2 separate regions of the Homo sapiens genome follow, and region 2 is linked to region 1. The links are contacts of gene promoters, found by promoter capture Hi-C in blood cells and fetal thymus (Javierre and others, 2016). All regions are on one chromosome and are shown on one strand. Each heading gives the region's core, a stretch centred on a gene start or on the middle of the fragment in contact. The rest is flanking DNA. Distances are from core to core; before and after follow the strand shown.

Region 1 (3,883 bases), core at 788-3,287:
CTTTTAGTTCCCCCTCGTCCCTGAAACTGTAGGCTAAGACTTTGGTTTTCCAGTTTTTCACTTTGGAATAGGTCATCTTACCCATATCTGCTTAATTTCACAAATGAAGAAACAGCTACACCTTAAGACATGCAGTCTCACAGGGCAAACCAAAGGTTCCTTCCAGCCTGTAAGACTACAGTCAGTCCAGAGCCAGTTTGAGAGCTAGCAGGGATTCCTGGCAAAAGCTTGGTGCAGAACACACTCCCCTCCCCAACAAAAGGCCATGGGCAAAGTGGCTTTGAAGGCAGGATGAGGTTGAACCCAGGCCTACCACCCACCAGCTGTGTGGCTCTGAGCTCATCTCTTCACTCCTGTGCACATGTCCCCATTTGGGGGGTGAGAATACCCCAGAGTTGTGAGAACTAAAACACAAAGCATGTCAGTGTGTCAGTGGAAGTATCTGACACTCAGCTGTGCTGTAGGGTGCCTATAGTTATACTTTCCTAATTTCACTGTGCCTATGTTTAACAGCTCTGCTGAGACATGGTGTCCCAAGGATGTGACTTTACTCTGATCCACAGAGGGTACAGCTGGAGGATATTAGGGTGCAGAGCTTGGCCTCCTATCAGCATCTCTAGAGTTTTGGGATAGGTTGCAGCTCCCCACTACCCCTGCCTGCAGGGACTACCATGCCTGTGTCCATGTATCCAGAAGGGCCTAGGGCCTTTGAGAATGCAAGGATAAGCTAAGATACCTTCCAACATTTGGGGAGCCAAGTTGGGTTGCTGCTTTCTACTTTTCTTTGAGACTGGGTCTCGCTCTGTCACCCAGGCTGCAGTGCAGTGGCGCCATCATAGCTCACTGGAACCTTGACCTGGGCTCAAGCCGATCCACCCACCTCAGTCTCCCTAGTAGTGGGTACCACAGGCGTGCGCCACCACGCCTGGCTAATTTTTGTATTTTTTGCAAAGATGAGGTTCTGCCATGTTATCGATGCCACGATCTCCAACTCCTGAGCTCAAGCAATCCGCCCACCTTGGCCTCCCAAAGTGCTGGGATTCCAAGCTTGACTCACTGCACCCAGCCGGTTGCTGCTTCTAATTTGACAAGTAAAAACACTGTAACGGAATTTTAACACCCTTTCCCCGAAAAAGTTGGAGGCACACGATGTGGAGAACAAATTATAGCCCTTGAATTAGTATAAGATCATCTTACTGAAAACCTCGTCCTGTTTTCCTCCACTGGGGCCTCCTGGGGCTGGTCCATCCCGGCTGGTCCTTGGACATCAGCCGTCAGGGCCCGGCACCTCCCCCTTCTGCAGAGCCTTGGAGACAGGTGTCCAAGGACGCTACCATGACCACGGTCCCCAGTGTGGCCAGGAAGCCTAAGACAAGTCGCTTCCCCATTCTGGACTTCGGTCTGTGAAATGCGGACAGTGATACCTACCGCACCGCGTTCCTAGGATTCAGTGGGATGATACCAGGGCCACGCCCGAGAACTGCGCACGTCGCGGTGGTTTCCAGAACATGATTCCAGGGATCGGGTGCTCCGGGATAGTCCCACTGCCAGAGTTTGGCCACGAGCGTGCGCCCCCAGTTTGCAGAGCGAGTTTAGCCCAAGAGCTTTTCACAAATGGTTTCTTTCCCTAAAAGGCCTTTTACCTTTGGTGTCAGCCGCCGCCAGCCATCAGGAATCAGGAATCTAGTTAGCGGTTGCCCTTGTATCCCTGGTCGAGGCCCTGATGTTTGGCCCACGCACAGACGCCGACGCTGCGAAGCCCTCCGCGCTTCTGTTCGCCCGTCCCGTTCGAGCTCCGGCTCCCGGTCACTGGGACCGCCCACGTCTCAGGTGGCACAGCTTGGACGCAGGTCTGTGTCCCCTTCTTCCGCTTCCGGCCTCGGCTCCGCCGGAAGCGCATCTACAGTGGACTGGGCCTGCACTCGAGACGTGGTGGCTGGCGCGTCGGCCGGCGCGGAGGGATGACGCGAGGAGGCAGCGACCAATGGGAAACGGCGTAGACCGGGGCGCCTGCCCCCCCGCCCAGCCCCGCCCCCGCCCGGCGTCGGGCCGTCGGACGGGCTGGAAGGGGCGGCCGCTCGGGCAGGATGGCGGCGGCCGCGGTGGGCGCGGGCCACGGCGCGGGGGGCCCGGGCGCAGCGAGCAGCAGTGGTGGGGCGCGCGAGGGCGCGCGGGTGGCGGCGCTGTGCCTGCTGTGGTACGCGCTGAGCGCGGGCGGCAACGTGGTCAACAAGGTGATCCTGAGCGCCTTCCCGTTCCCGGTGACCGTGTCGCTGTGCCACATCCTGGCTCTGTGCGCTGGGCTCCCGCCGCTGCTGCGCGCCTGGCGCGTGCCCCCCGCGCCGCCCGTCTCGGGCCCCGGACCCAGTCCGCATCCGTCGTCCGGCCCGCTGCTGCCGCCGCGCTTCTACCCGCGCTACGTGCTACCGCTCGCCTTCGGCAAGTACTTCGCGTCCGTGTCAGCGCACGTCAGCATCTGGAAGGTGCCCGTGTCCTATGCACACACCGGTAGGTTCCGCGCCCGGCCTCGGGGGCGGCGGCCGGGCCCGCCGCTTCGGGTTTGGGCGCATGGATAGGAGTGCGCCGCCCGGGGCGCGTCCCGCCGGACTGAGAAGTCAGCAGAGGGGCTGCCAAGGGTTTGGTAGGGGAGGGACACGCACGGGGTTCTCAGGGAGAAGAGGAGCTGAGAAGAGAGCTGAGAGGTAAGCAGGACAGACCACAACAGCCGTGGCAGGAGGAAGCCCTACCGAAAGAGAAGGGGCGAAGAGGTGTGAGGGGCTGCCAGGCCCTCCCATCCCGCCGTGGAGGTGGAACAGGTTGGGCCCTGAAATTCAGGCAGCCCCCTGAGTGCCCATCCCTCTCTTTGCAGTCAAGGCCACCATGCCCATCTGGGTGGTCCTCCTGTCCCGGATCATTATGAAGGAGAAGCAGAGCACCAAGGTAACCCCGGGCAGGGACTCTGGGCAGATGGGAGCTCCAGGGGGTTCCTCCCTGTTGCCAACTGGTGACGTGGTCAGGATCCTGGTCTGCAGGCTGCCTGGCTTCCCGTCAAATAGGGAAGTCAGTGTAGAGGTCTCCAGTGGCCTTTTACTACTCAAGTTCTAGAATCACCCTGTGAGCAGTGGTGTGTGGAGTATGTGTCCCTCTGTGATCTCTGCTGTGTGGTCTTAGGAACACTGTTGTCCCTTTCAGATCCAATTTTCCTCCCCGTTTTGATTCCCTACCTGGGTTTGCTGGTAGGTGATGGGTTGGTCACATCTTGGCCATACACCCCATGTGTGGCCTTTCCAGTGGGACTAGGGATGGATGGATCAGAACGCTGTCGGTTAGGTGTTCACTTTTTTTTTTTTTTTTTTGAGACGGAGTTTTACTCTTGCCCAGCCTGAAGTCCAGTGACACAATCTCAGCTCACTGCAACCTCCGCCTCCCAGGTTCAAGCAGTTCTCCTGCCTCAGCCTCTCAAGTAGTTGGGACTACAGACGTGCACTACCACACCTGGCTAATTTTTTTGTATTTTTAATAGAGACAGGGTTTCACCATGTTGCCAGGCTGGTCTCAAACTCCTGACCTCAAGTGATCCGTCCGCCTCAGCCTCCCAAAGTGCTGGTATTACAGGCGTCAGCCACTGCACTTGGCTAGGTTTTCACTTCTTGACAAGAGATTTCTGTCAGGGGACCTCTGGGATCAGAAGCCAGACGCGATCCAAGGAGTTCGATCTTGGCAAAATCCAGCAAAGTCTTAGAAATTAAAACAGCCAGAAGTTGTGATGGTCTGGGAACGGAAGCGAAAGTGGCACACAGGACTCAGGGCTGCATAAGGAGGATGCTTTGGGCACAGTCCAAATTCTGTTCAAGATGCCAAGCCAGGGTATTTCCTGGCTTGG
Region 2 (3,883 bases), core at 1,013-3,512, 740 kb after region 1:
GGGTGCATGTCCTTAACTTTGGCAAATAAACCTCCTAAAATGATTGAGCCTTGTCTGGGCATTTTTCTTGATGGACAACACTGTGTGGAATTTCCCCTAGTCCAGGAGGAAGAAAGAGGAAGGGCCCAGTGAGTACTGATGAATGCCAGTGTCCACTTGCAAATGTCACCCCACCCCCACCCCCAATCCCCAGAGGTCCTTGTTTGAAATGCTTGTTCTCGGGCGCTGTAAAGAATAGCACTTGAACATGAATTTAATTTCTTCAGCAAGGCCAGTTTCTTACTTTCCGCAGAAAAGATACACTTGCTAGCAGTTTTTGCCACGAGAGTACACTGAACAAAAGAGACAAGGTCATTTACAACTTGACGCGTCTACCCTACTGCTGTGTCCAGTTACCATTAGCTGGAACAAGACCTCACACTCTGTATTTATCCCAATCAGCTAGCAACTTAGAACTTTTTTTAAAAAGGCAAAAGCAGAAGAAAACAAAAGAAAGAAGTAACTTGTAGAACGCTAAGAAAAGTAAAAACACCTTCAAATAAAGAACAAGCTACGACCTAATACTTGGTTAGACTAGTATAAGCATGCCAAAGCAAATATTTAAGCTAAAATGTAAAAGCTAGGAACATAAAGTACATTGATTTCTTTATTACAGCTAGCAAATATTTAAGAATATTAGTACAAGTCTTTAAATAAATGTTGCTTCTAAAACAAGTTATTGTTTGTAAAAAGTAAAGTAGAGGTTCCTCTTCAAAAATTTTCCTTCCCATTCGATTAGGAATAAATAGTAACTTCTCTTAAAAGCAAAATTTATTCAAAGACCTGTGCTAACATTCTTAAATATCTGCTAGCCATAATAAAGAAATCAATATACTTTATGTTCTTAGCTCCCACAATTTAGCCCAAATATTTGCCCTGGTATGCTTATACTGGTCCAAGCAAGCATTAAGTCATAGCCTCTTCCTCTTCCTTATTTGAAGGTGTTTTTACCTTTCTCAGCATTCCACAAGTTACTTCCTTCTTCCTTTGTTCTCCTCCACCTTTGCCTCTTTTAAAACGTTCTAAGTTGCTAGCCAATCAGGACAAACACAGAATGTGAGGTCCCGTTCCAGCCAATGGAAACTGGACACAGCAGTAGGGTGGACACCTCAGGTTATAAATGACCCTGTCTCCTTTGCTCGGTGTACGCTCGTGGCAAAACTGCTGGCGAGTGTACCCTTTCTGCAGGGAGTAAAAATGGCCTTGCTAAATAAATTAATGTTAAAGTGCTATTTCTTTATGGCACCAAAAACCAAGCATTTCAAACACTATTTATTCTTAATTAGATGAAGAAGGAAGTCTTTGAAGAAGAACCTCTACTTTTCTTTTTACATCCTGACACGAGGAAGACAACAAGCCCAGTTGCCAGGAACCGCCCATTTGGGCTCCACGCAGCCAAGTGTCTTCTCGGGTCTCCTGTCTTTCTAACCCCAGGGGGCGGGACCTGAAGCGGTATCCAATCAGGGGCACTAGGGGCCGTACTAACTATCCAATCAGGAGCGTAGCCGTAGCCGGGGGACGTGGCGGGCTGTGGAAGCTTCAGTTTCTGGCGGTTTCTTTGTTTTTTGGGGTTTGGGGTCTTTGCTGCTCGCGCAGGCCCTCCTCCCCTCTAATCCCCGTCGCCGCCCCTCTGCGACGTGAGCAGGCCCAGGGGAGGACGCCGGGACACCCGGAAGCCGGAAATGCTGAGTGTGCGGGGCCGGACGTCCCGAGACCGGAGGAGGAGCTGGTGGAACCAGCCGGATCTGGCTGTGGCGGGACCCGGGCCTGTCCGCTGCGACTCCGGGGTCTGGGACCCGAGTTCCCCTGGAGCAGCTCGGCCCTCGGTCCTCTCGGCCGCAGGGTGGGGCTGGGCCGGCAGCTGGGACTCCGGGAGTCCTGTCCTGTCCCTGCGCAGTGACTGTCGCCCCAGAGCCCTCTCTGGGCAGCTCCGCATCTCCCCAGATTGTGCGGGGGCCACGGGAGGATCATGGGGGGATCCCGCCTCCGGCCTGGGGATCCTGTGGGAGGAGCCATGGCCTGTGGGCTCCCCAGTCCCGCCTTTCCCCCCGAAGGCGGCCCCCGCTTCTCCCTGAGTCTTCCAAAAGGTGTGCGAAGCCGGGTCTCCGCGACCCGGTCCCCCAGCCTCGCTCCCCCTTGGGCTGGCCGTAAATCTTGTAATGAACGTTTCCCTCCCCGCATTCTCTAACGCCAGCGTCTCCACTGCAATCCACATGGTTCTCAACTGTTAGTCCCTTTGTTGTACGTTTCAAATCGACGTGGCATTTAAATGATCATCGTTCCACAGAGCAGTGGCTGACTCTTTTAGGAAGATTTCTTTTCTGTCACCTTTTCACATATAAGGAAAGGAAAGGAAAACCACATGAAACGCCTCTGTTTACAAAAGCCTTTGTGCCGCTACTTTTATCTTAGACACCTCATCAGACTGCCTTTGGGTTGAGGTTCCTGTCACGCGTGTCCGTATAGAAGACACCCAATCAGGCTTTGTGTGAGCAACAAGGCTGTTAATTCACTTGGGTGCAAGTGGGCTGAGTCCGAAAAGAGAGTCAGTGAAGGGAGATAGGAGAGGGGCAGCTTTATAGGGCTTGGGTAGGCGTGGAAAGTTACAGTTAAAGGTGGTTATCCTCAGCAGAGGAGGGGGTCACAAGGTGCATGGTGGAGAGATGATGGGACTCATTGTCCAGGAGAAGAATGTCACAGGGTTGATTGATCAGTTGGGGCAGGGCAGGAACAAGTCATAATGGTGGACAAGTCATAATGGTGGAATGTCGTAAGGTGGGTTAATTAGTTAAGGCAGGAACTGGCTGTTTCACTTCTTTGTGGTTTTTCGGCTGCTCCAGACTTCTTGGCTCCTGCAGGCCACCTGGACGGATATGTGCAGGTCACAGGGGTTACAATGGCTAAGCTTCAGCTCACAGGCCTGACATTTTTGTCTTTTTATTTATAAAATATGAAGTTGTAGGAAAAGATTAAAAAAAAGTGTAAGTTCCTTCTGGGGATTACTGGGGTAGGGCTGATATTTCTCCGGACTGCTTCAAGTGTGACCAGGGACTGCGTGGACACCTTAAAGAAAATTTTATAATGAGTCTAGTAAGTTTCGGGTCTAGGGTGCATTTTTATGTAGCTAACAAGGTGCCAGTTAGCGTATTTTTGAGCTTGGAACTGCCCTAATAAAATAAGTTCTCTAAAAACAGTAATCAGGCATATTAGCTTTAATGTAGGTGGCGATGAGTTTTTAGGCCAAGGAAGGAATAATGTTTTATGTACCAAAGCCTTTTGTCCCCATTTTCCATCATACGAATAGTATTCCCTGTTGCTAAGCCGATGATACATTACCCTTTTCCCATAGGTGTGAGTGGCGGTCTGAATGGAGAAGTTCAATAGTTCTGATTGCAGATCCTATGCAGAAGAGATAATAAGGAAAATAATCTTTGTCTCCTGGATTAAGCTGAGGCTGGCAAAGAGTGAAATGTCCCAAGCCCTCTAACAACAAACAACATACTTTGTGTTGTCCTGGATGCTGGTCTGGTTGCCAAATATGTGGAACTGGCCCCATATGCGTGTACTGTTGTCCATTTCATGAGAGTAGGCTTGAGGACACCATGGGCAAGGATCTGATGGTTGCCAGCCTAAGCGTTTTAGACTTTTGACCCAGAGATTTTTTGTTTTGGGTGTGGAAAAAATTTTAGAGGATAGGGTCTCAAGATATAATCCTTTTTATAGGCGGCAGGTCTTAAGAGATGAGGGTCCAGAGGAACGGATGAAGCCTGCTTGGAAGCATGCTGGGATGGCCATTTGGAAGGAGTGTTGCAAGGAAGCATGGCCTTGGCTGGGCGCTGCCAGG

What was found. The method cuts DNA at HindIII sites, captures the fragments that hold promoters and counts their contacts. A CHiCAGO score of 5 or more calls a contact.
Region 2: a fragment that was not itself captured here is called in contact with the fragment with the promoter of SLC35E1 in region 1 in 1 of 17 cell types (fetal thymus); the score reaches 6.7 in fetal thymus.

The regions. Positions count from the first base shown.
Region 1 is chr19:16,570,569-16,574,451 of GRCh38, reverse strand. It overlaps SLC35E1 (solute carrier family 35 member E1), which reads left to right and starts at 2,037. Exons shown (of 6, transcript NM_024881.5): 1 at 2,037-2,508; 2 at 2,870-2,940. The coding sequence starts at 2,088. It overlaps LOC105372295 (a long non-coding RNA gene), which reads right to left and starts at 1,902. Exons shown (of 3, transcript XR_936360.3): 1 at 1,644-1,902. RefSeq lists enhancers at 1,731-1,820, 1,128-2,002 and silencers at 1,921-2,140, 2,271-2,380, 2,541-2,670. The HindIII fragment of the contact is 21,135 bases long and covers 1,050-3,883 here.
Region 2 is chr19:15,834,773-15,838,655 of GRCh38, reverse strand. It overlaps LOC124900418 (collagen alpha-1(I) chain-like), which reads right to left. Exons shown (of 3, transcript XM_047439793.1): 3 at 1,276-3,438. The coding sequence starts at 2,254. The coding sequence ends at 1,649. UCA1 (urothelial cancer associated 1) reads right to left here. Exons shown (of 3, transcript NR_015379.3): 3 at 2,335-3,883. Among named protein-coding and RNA genes, the nearest start is that of UCA1, 7.8 kb to the right of the region's middle. RefSeq lists enhancers at 1,219-1,368, 1,509-1,738, 2,519-3,718 and a silencer at 1,869-2,088. The HindIII fragment of the contact is 1,368 bases long and covers 1,579-2,946 here.